Regions from separate parts of the Homo sapiens genome. Here region 2 is linked to region 1. The links are contacts of gene promoters, found by promoter capture Hi-C in blood cells and fetal thymus (Javierre and others, 2016). All regions are on one chromosome and are shown on one strand. Each heading gives the region's core, a stretch centred on a gene start or on the middle of the fragment in contact. The rest is flanking DNA. Distances are from core to core; before and after follow the strand shown. Region 1 holds the start of FBP1 (fructose-bisphosphatase 1). Region 2 overlaps FANCC (FA complementation group C).

Region 1 (6,204 bases), core at 803-3,302:
CTGAGGAACAAAGAGTTAAATAAGACCCTTAAAGGATCAACTCTCTTTGCCAGGCATCTAAGTCCCCTCTGGGGCTTTGAGGAGACAGTCGCTGTCTTTCCTGGTGGTACCACCACCTTCCTTCATTCAACGCCGCCGCATCTGACAACCCTGGGCACAGGAATCTGCACCCCAGGTCTCCACGGTGAATCCAGCAGTCAATTTTCAGAGCTTGTCCTGCCTGCCCCATCCACACCGCTTGGCACATGGGTCAGCCCGCCTTTACTTACCTTCTTCATCTGGCTTCCCGGATGTCACATCTCTTGGTTTTTGGTTGGTTTTTCCAGTTGGCTTTTCCAATTTATACCTGCAGCATGGATCTCTCCTCTGAACTCCAGATACATAAATCTGTCTATTTGACATTGCCTTGGATGTCTAGAAGGCATTTCAAACTTAGCAGGTCCCACACTTAGCTCCTAATTGTCAGTCCTGCCTCCAGCACACGCCCCTCTCGGTGTTCCCCATCGCAGTCGAGGACAACTGCATTCTTCTAGTTTCTCAGGCCTCAAACCTTAGAATCATCCGAGACTCCTGTCTCTCACATATCTCATCTGTCAACGAATCCCATCAGCTCTACCTTCAAAATATGTCCAGAATCCACCACCTCCACTGCTAACACCTGGCTCACTATCTCCTAGTAACCTGGAGGGCACTGTCTTCAGTCTGATCTTCACACAGTAGCCGCAGTATGAAGACACAGGGTAGACCATGCCTCTCTTCTTCTCCAAACTCTCCAGTGGGTTCCTCCTAGTCAAAGTCAAACCTCACTTGGCCCTCTAGACCTCACCTCTGCATCCTCCCGCTGGCCTTATCTCCTCCACCTCTGACCCTTGCTAGCTCTATTTCAGCTCCACCGGTCTCCTGGCCATTCCCTGAACCTGAAACATGGTCTCCTACCCCAGGGCCTGTGCACTGGCTCTCCCGGTGAGGAAACCGCTCTCCTTCCCATCTCCACCGGCGCGTTGCATCCTTCACCTCTTTGCTCACATATCCCTTTCTCAGAGAAGCTTTTACTGAGGCCTCTGCTCACCCTCTTCTCCCCTCCACATTCCGTGTCTTCCTTTTCTATTTCGTTTCTCTCTATGGTACTTATGGCTTATGTAACAAACTAATCTATTGTTTATATATTTATTTTTACTGTTTCTCTGTGAAAACGTACACTCGAAAAGGGCAGGAGTTTTGTCTGTTTGGATCAGGCTCCACCCCTGGAAGGTAGGACAGTGTTCAGCACAGCAGGTGCTCAATAGGTGTTGTTTCGTGAATCAGCACATCAATTGCAGCATTGTGGCTACCAGGGGGTCAGGATGCGGGCGGTGGAGCCCTCTGGCCTTTGTGTGGTAGCCGAGGACTCTGTGTCAGCGACCGTTTTCCGGGAAACTTCCGGGCGAGACTCACATCTTGGAAATTCAAATACTCAATAGCTCTCGAATTCTAGGAATCTTGAGAAGAGGCCTGGATTAAGGATTCAGACGTGGGCCCTCAGATGGGTGAGAAACGGGGACTCTGTGTCTCCTAGCGGGGACAGAAGGGCCAGGTGACAGGCCAGGCAGAGTGGACGGGGCTTGGGCAGGGGGCGGGGGCAGGCAGCCACACGGGGCAGGAGCTGCAGAGCTAAAGCCAGGCCATGTGGACTGGCTGCGGGTTTCGCTGCCTAGCTGGTGGCATTGAGCAAGTTACTTAACCTTTCTGAACTTCCGTTTTATGATTTTGGAGGAAACAGTCATAGCTTTCTCTCTGGCAGAGTCCGATGGCCCGAGTCCCGCTCCACAGTGCGGGTGGAGGGCACGGAGGGGTGTGTGTGGGGGGCGACAGCCCAGGAAGACTAGGGGGCGGCAGGGCGCGTGGGGGCGGGGGTTGGGAGACCGCAGGGAGGATCCCCGACCTTGTCTGAAGATCCAAGCAGGCGGAGCCGCGGTCTGGTCCGCGGGGTAGGCGGGGCGCAAGAGTGTTCCCGGGGGCGGGGGGCCGACCCGCGTCTAAAGGTTTCCGCGATTCACCCGCCGGCGCCTGGCCTGGCCCAGTTGCACCACGAGCGCTGCGGACACTCGGGGCGGCAGTCGGTCTGTCAGTCCTCCCGCCAGGTCCCGCGGCCCGCACCTGCCGCCCGCACCTGCAGCTCCGCACCTGCGGCCAGTGCCTACTGCCCTCTCTTGCCGCCCGCACCTGCAGCCCCGCACCTGCCGCTTGCACCTGCAGCCCCGCGCTCTACCCGGTTCAAGCATGGCTGACCAGGCGCCCTTCGACACGGACGTCAACACCCTGACCCGCTTCGTCATGGAGGAGGGCAGGAAGGCCCGCGGCACGGGCGAGTTGACCCAGCTGCTCAACTCGCTCTGCACAGCAGTCAAAGCCATCTCTTCGGCGGTGCGCAAGGCGGGCATCGCGCACCTGTGAGTCGGGCCTTGGGCGGTGGGCCCCGTCCTGTCTGTCTGCCTGGGGAGCCTGCCCGGCGGGCTGACGTTGGGCCCTCTGAGCCTCCTGCCGTCAGCCTCTGTCTGTCCGTCTGATGTCTGAGCGCCTCTCTCGCTCTCTGTCTGGTAGCCCCTCTCTCCAGAAGCTGGCTCAGCCTCACTCAAGTCCTCATCTCCTCCCTTGACCTTGGAGGGGCCCACCTGGGGGTCCGTCTCACAGGTGTACACCTGATTCCATCTTGCATTCCTCTTCTCTGCCCTGAGCAGCCTGCCTCGTACCCCTCTCAGCCGGCCAAGTGTGGGCACCTGGCCTGCCCGTCATACCCGCCCTAGCCTCAGACAGGAAAGTGCTAGCTCAGGTGCCTTCCTTCCCCATTTCTTCTTTGTCCTCCTTCACTCTTTCTGCAATTAGGGACCCAAGTCAGGTTTCTAATCCAGTTATCTCTGACCTGAAACAAGACCTGTTAGGAGCGAGTGTCCCCCCCGCCCCCCCCGCAAGCAGGCTGGGAGGTCTCCTGTGTGTCCAGAGCCTTTAGGAGCAGCAGGGCTTGTGTGCAAAGGAGCTCCCGTGGGCTGCCCCTTGCTGGGACAGTTGCCATGCTGTGCCAGAAACAGGAAACACCCAGGGCTTCAAAACCCCTATCGATTTGCAATGATGGTGTGTGCAGCCTCTGCCCAATTAGTGGAAAGCTCAAAAGTGGTTTGTAGAATGGTTCTGAATGCGCTATGGAGTGCATCTCGAACGTCACTGGGCACAGGAATCATTTGGGGATCTTGGTAAGATGTGTGCCCTCCTTCCATAGCTCTGGGACAGGTCCTGAGATTCTGCATTTCTAAGAAGTTCTCCTGTGGTGGGTGCTGCCCATCAGATACTGTTTGTCTACTCATCACATTGTGAGTAGCAAGGGGTCAAGTGGAGTGGAGACTCAAAGGACCCCTTCTTGTGAGGTTTTTTGTAAGTCACACAACATCCTTTCGTTTGTGTTGGTGTGCACAGGTATTTTCTTTTTCTTTTCTTTTTTTTTTTTTTTTTGAGATGGAATTTTGCTCTTGTTGCCCAGGCTGGAGTGCAATGGTGCGATCTTGGCTCACCGCAACCTCTGCCTCCCAGGTTCAAGCGATTCTCCTGCCTCAGTCTCCCGAGTAGCTGGGATTACAGGCATGTGCCACCATGCCCAGCTAATTTTGTAATTTTTTTTAGTAGAAACGGGGTTTCTCCATGTTGGTCAGGCTGGTCTCGAACTCCCGACCTCCGGTGATGCCTTGGCCTCCCAAAGTGCTGGGATTACAGGCATGAGCCGCCGTGCGCAGGTATTTTCTAGCTAACTGATCCACACTTTTAACTGAAGTGTAACTGGGTTTTCAGATTGTCCATACACTTTACTAACATTCCCCGCACTTATGCACACTATAAAAATGACACATGATGGGCTGGGCGCGTAGGCTCTAGCCTGTCATCCCAGCACTTTGGGAGGCCGAAACAGGTGGATTGCCTGAGGTCAGGAGTTCAAGACCAACCTGATCAACATGGTGAAACCCCGTCTCTACCAAAAATTAGCTGGGTGTGGTGGCAGGCGCCTGTAATCCCAGCTACTCGGGAGGCTGAGGAAGGAGAATTGCTTGAACCCAGGAGGCAGAGGTTGCAGTGAGCCGAGATCGCATCATTGCACTCCAGCCTGCGCGACAAGAGCGTGACTTTGTCTTAAAAAAAAAAAAAAAAGACGCATGATGCTCAGAGCTGACCTGAACAAATACAACCCTGCTACTTGGGTTTGGAATGCATTTCTCCATTCTTAAAAACTCTTCTCCGCCCCGCATCCTGCAATCTAGATTCCTTTTCTTACTGGCAGGCTGTCTGGCTTTGGTCCCACAGTATGGACTGGTGGAGGTAATTCATGTAAAGGAGTGGTATGATCACATTTATTTTTGAATATTAAGCAGACATGTTAAGGAAGGTGATGACTCCATTACTGTTGCCTCTGGCCCCTCTTAATAATACATTCCTAAGGATTCTTATTTTAGAAACATACCCAGGTGAAATCTTAAGCTTTAATTTACAGCTAGTATAGGTGGCTCACAGCTTTAACTGCCTTTGAGGACCAGGGATATATTTTAAAAAGAGGGCTTGTCGACTGGGTGTGGTGGCTCACACCTGTAATCCCAGCACTTTGGGAGGCTGAGACGGGTAGATCACTCAAAGTCCAGGTGTTTGAGACCAGCCTGGCCAACATGGTGAAACCCTGTCTCTACTAAAAACACAAAAATTAGCCAGGCATGGTGGCAGGCGCCTGTAATCCCAGCTACTTGGGAGGCTGAGGCAGGAGAATTGCTTGAACCCGGGAGGCGGAGGTTGCAGTGAGCCCAGATCGTGCCACTCTACTCCAGCCTGGCGACCGAGTAAGACTCTGTCTCAAAAAAAGAAAAAAAAGGGCTTGTCATGTCTGATATTGTTTAAAAAATGTGTCAGTACCTTTCACACCCCTAGAGAGACTGAGAAATGTAAGATGTGTTTTGAGGTGTCCCACTGTCTAAGTAACCTTAGACAGTGGGACCTTGGATAGTGAGATTTTGATGGTGGGGCCTGGATGAAGCATGTTAATTTTGGCTACGTAAGGTATGCGTTTTATTTATTTATTTATTTTGAGATAGAGTCGCACTCTGTTGCCCAGGCTGGAGTGCAGTGGTGTGATAATGGCTCACTGCAGCCTCAACCTCCCAGGCTGAATTGGTGCTCCCACCTCAGCCTCCCCTGTAGCTGGGACTACAGGCATGTGCCACCATGCCGGATAATTTTTGTGTTTTTGTAGAGATGGGGTTTTGTTATGTTGCCCAGGCTGGTCTCAAATTCCTGGGCTCAAGCGATCTGCCCACCTTGGCCTCCCAAAATGCTGGGATTACAGGTATGAGCCACTGTGCCTGGCCAATATGTGTACTTTTATACTAGATAGTTGTGAATACCAGGTTTTAAAGAAATACTATGTTGCACTCATTGACAAAAATTTAAACCATTCAAAAGAATTCAAGGGAAGAGTGAAACCCACCCCATATATATCCCATGGGGTATCCACTGCAAATAATTTACTGCTTATTTTTCCGGATACTCTTTTACAGTCATATAAGTTTACACATGAACACATATTTACATATGCCTATAATAGCAGACAAAATGGGATCACAATACACATTTCTGTAGTTTGCTTTGTTATTTAACATTATTCAAGAAACATCCATTAATATCGGGACATCTACATCTACCTCCTTTTAACTGCTGTGTGCTGCTCCCCTGCACACATCATGAGGTATTGAAGTTTTTCTCTATTTTGGGGCACTTTGGTTTTTACTAGCCTTTGGGTATTACAGTGCTGTACCCTTGGAACTGGTGTGCATGCCTGGTTGTTGGGGTAGCTGACAGGACTAGATGCTGGACACTGAGGTGATCTTGTGGGAAGTTCAGCGTTTGGCCATTTTCAGTATCACATGTCATCAGGCAGGTAGCATGATTCTCAAGCCAGGCCCCCAACCTACATTCATTCCAGGCATTGAAATCCAGAAAGAAAAACCAGCATTCCTGCAAAGATCTTGTTAGTGCTGAAGACCGGACCTAGAAGAGCATGTACCCAGAGGGACGGGGTGATTGCAGATTTGCAGGAACCTCACTGGAGCCAGTTTAGGGAGCTCACCCAGGATCATTATGGAAACATCAGGAGTTTAAGCACAGAGCCTGGTGTAACCTAAAGTTGCTATTGTAGTCACT
Region 2 (3,053 bases), core at 554-3,053, 530 kb before region 1:
AACACAGTCTTGTACTGTTGAAAGAATCTTGTATTTCAAATAACCTGATTGGAATTTTCTGTTAAAGCAAAACAGAAAATTCAGTACATAGTTTTAAATATTTACCTCTTAATATTAAAGCATTGTTTTCTTCTGGCTTAAATTATAGCCAAATGTGAGAAATTTTAACTTACAAACTTGATGTAACTCTTCTAAAAAATGTTATGAGATTTTTTAATGTTTGTTAACCATTCCGGTGTTTTGGAAGCTTTGTACAATAACAACTTTTTTTTTTTTTTCAAATGAACTGAATTTTAAATGAAGAAGTAAACTAACTTTTCTTTAAATGGATTTGGTTTTAATTCTTAGGAAATTAATGACCTGTCTATTGTTCATTGCTTAAATAGGAATGCAGAATTATAGACATTAAACATAAAATCCCAATTATTAGTAAATGTGACATGGCACTGCTTCCTTTTCACTCTGACAGAGTGAAACATGAGAAGATGGGGGTTGGGGGAATCTCAACGGAAATATCACTCACACCAAGAAAAATAGAACTGATGTAATCCTGTTTGCAGCGTGAGTTAACCTGCAACTGATTTTGTTTTACAGATGGTTTTATCATTAGCGTCTGAACTCAGAGAGAATCATCTTAATGGATTTAACACTCAAAGGCGGTAGGTGTTAAACTAAACATCCTTCTTCTCAGGTTTCAAAATGTATCAGTTTGGTTATGAGAGGAAAATTTTACAATTCATAGGAAATGGATGTTCAGTTATGGTTGTATTTTATATAGAAAGATTATTTTAGTGGAATACATAGCAAATTGGTGAGTTTTTTCAAACTCTTTTAAAAATCACTATTTTCTCAACTCTCACAGAGCAGTAAGTAAATCATACAATGTCTTTTGTGGGCCCATTAGGTAGAAAGCCCTACATACACAGTAGGGAGCATAAAAGAAAGAGCAGTACTTAGTTTTACCCTGGGATTGCTCACTCTGCAAGAGGAGAATGTGCACAGATGCAAGTGTATGCTCTCACACTAGCCTGCCCTGGCTCTGCCTTCTTCTGCTCCCAACACACACACACACACACACACACACACACACACACACACACGATATTTACAAGGCAACATTTGATGTGAACATATGCCCTATTTTAAGAAACATGATATTCCAAAATCTAGACTAAACAAATCAAAGAGATTCAGACAAATTAAAAGGCAATTAATCACATTACAAATGTTTCTTCACTCTGTAAAAGAATCTCAGTTTTCATTGGTGGGCATTTCATTTTTGACATATCATTAACCAAGAGAATCTGGGACTGAGGGACTTGGTGATTTTTTTTTTTTTTTGTAAAGCTATTGCTAATTCAAGCTCTATCAGAAATTGTCTTTGTCCTCAACCTTTAGGAATCCTTTGCACCTAACCCTTAAACTATATAATTATTAGAGGAAAACATTGGAGATAATCTTCATTATGTTGGATTTGGCAATGTAAGAAGAACCATAGGAGACATGGAGAGTGTTTAGATTTATTTATTTACATGTCAGGTAAAGACTTGGATTTGGTTGTGAGGTGAATGTTGACTGATGGATCTTTTGAATTATGTAATTATAAATTTATTCAAAAAGACCTTAAAAATCAGTCAGTGCAGTGTGTATGTACTCCCTACACCAAACTCCCAAAATATGCATCACAGTTGATTTTTTAAAAAGCAGCTGACAATAAACAAAATAATTTTTAAAATCTGTTAACAAATAGAAACAAAGGATCAGAATGCAAAATATAGAAATGACTTGCAAAAATAAATCATAAAGAGGCAAACACTCCGTTATAGAAATGAGCAAGGAATATAAGCAGGTCATTACTAGAAGATGAAAACTGAATTAATAATAACATTAAAGGCGTTCTTCAGGAATGACATCAGCAAGATGGCAGAATAGGAAGTCCTAGACCTTATTTTCCAGTAGAGACATTGACTTAACTACAGCATACATCCCAAAAAATTATAGTGAGAACTACAGAACCAATTAAGAAGTCACAGTACTGCAGGCAAGCTCAAAGTCTAGAATAGCCACATTGAAATTGATTAAACAATCTGTTTCATGTCAACTGTGATAGCCCTTTTCCAGGTCTGGCAGCTTGGTGAGATTGGTAGGAAAAACCCAGCTTGTGGCTTCTCTTCCTTGGGAGGGAAAAAGAAGAGTGGAATGTGCATCCAACATTCTCACTTTTTAGGAAGCAGACTGAGGAACTGATTTCTGTCTCTACTGACCGGGAGCACTGATGAGGAAATCGCATACAGTAATCCCTCCTTATCTATAGGGAATATATTTCAAGACACCCAGTGGATGTCTGAAACTGTGGATAGTACCAAACCTGATTGCCACCAATCATAACACATTTCTGTATTCCACTCACAACTTTAATGTCTTTTCCATCGTAACTAAGCACTTATCATATATGATGGCTGTAATTTTTGCCATGTGAGATGCAACGACAAAACTAACAGAAATTTTTTTCCTTCTTTACAATTTCACAGATAGATGATTTGTTTTTACTATAGATCTCAGCAACCTCAGCATATGATTTTTTTCTTTCCTTATTAAGTTGAAAACTTTCACCTTTTCACTTAAAGAAAGCACTTTACAACTTCTCTGTGGCATATCCAAATTGCCAGCCCCAGTGCTCTTGGACTTTGAGGTCATTATTAAGTATTAATAAAATAAGAGTTACTTGAACACAAGCACAGTGATACTGTGACAGTTGATCTGACAACCAGTATGGCTACTAAGTGACTAACGAGCAGGTAGTGTATATATTATGGATACCCTGGGTAAAGGGATGATTCATGTTCCAGATGGGACAGAGTGGGACAGCATGAGATTTCATCATGCTACTCAGAACAGTACACAATTTAGGCCAGGTGCGGTGGCACATGCCTTTAATCCCAGCACTTTGGGAGGCTGAAGTAGGTAGATCACCCGATTTCAGGAGTTCAAGACGAGCCTGGCCAACATGTCAAAACCGCATCTCTACTAAAAGTACAAATTAGCTGGGCGTG

What was found. Contacts are between HindIII fragments. The CHiCAGO score rates a contact against its expected background, and 5 or more counts as called.
Region 2: a fragment that was not itself captured here is called in contact with the fragment with the promoter of FBP1 in region 1 in 6 of 17 cell types (M2 macrophages, M1 macrophages, total B cells and 3 more); the score reaches 8.5 in M2 macrophages.

The regions. Positions count from the first base shown.
Region 1 is chr9:94,635,366-94,641,569 of GRCh38, reverse strand. It overlaps FBP1 (fructose-bisphosphatase 1), which reads left to right and starts at 2,052. Exons shown (of 7, transcript NM_000507.4): 1 at 2,052-2,429. The coding sequence starts at 2,260. RefSeq lists a silencer at 1,919-1,978. The HindIII fragment of the contact is 3,451 bases long and covers 1,049-4,499 here.
Region 2 is chr9:95,168,685-95,171,737 of GRCh38, reverse strand. It overlaps FANCC (FA complementation group C), which reads left to right. Exons shown (of 15, transcript NM_000136.3): 6 at 595-659. Among named protein-coding and RNA genes, the nearest start is that of MIR3074, 84 kb to the right of the region's middle. The HindIII fragment of the contact is 3,108 bases long and covers 250-3,053 here.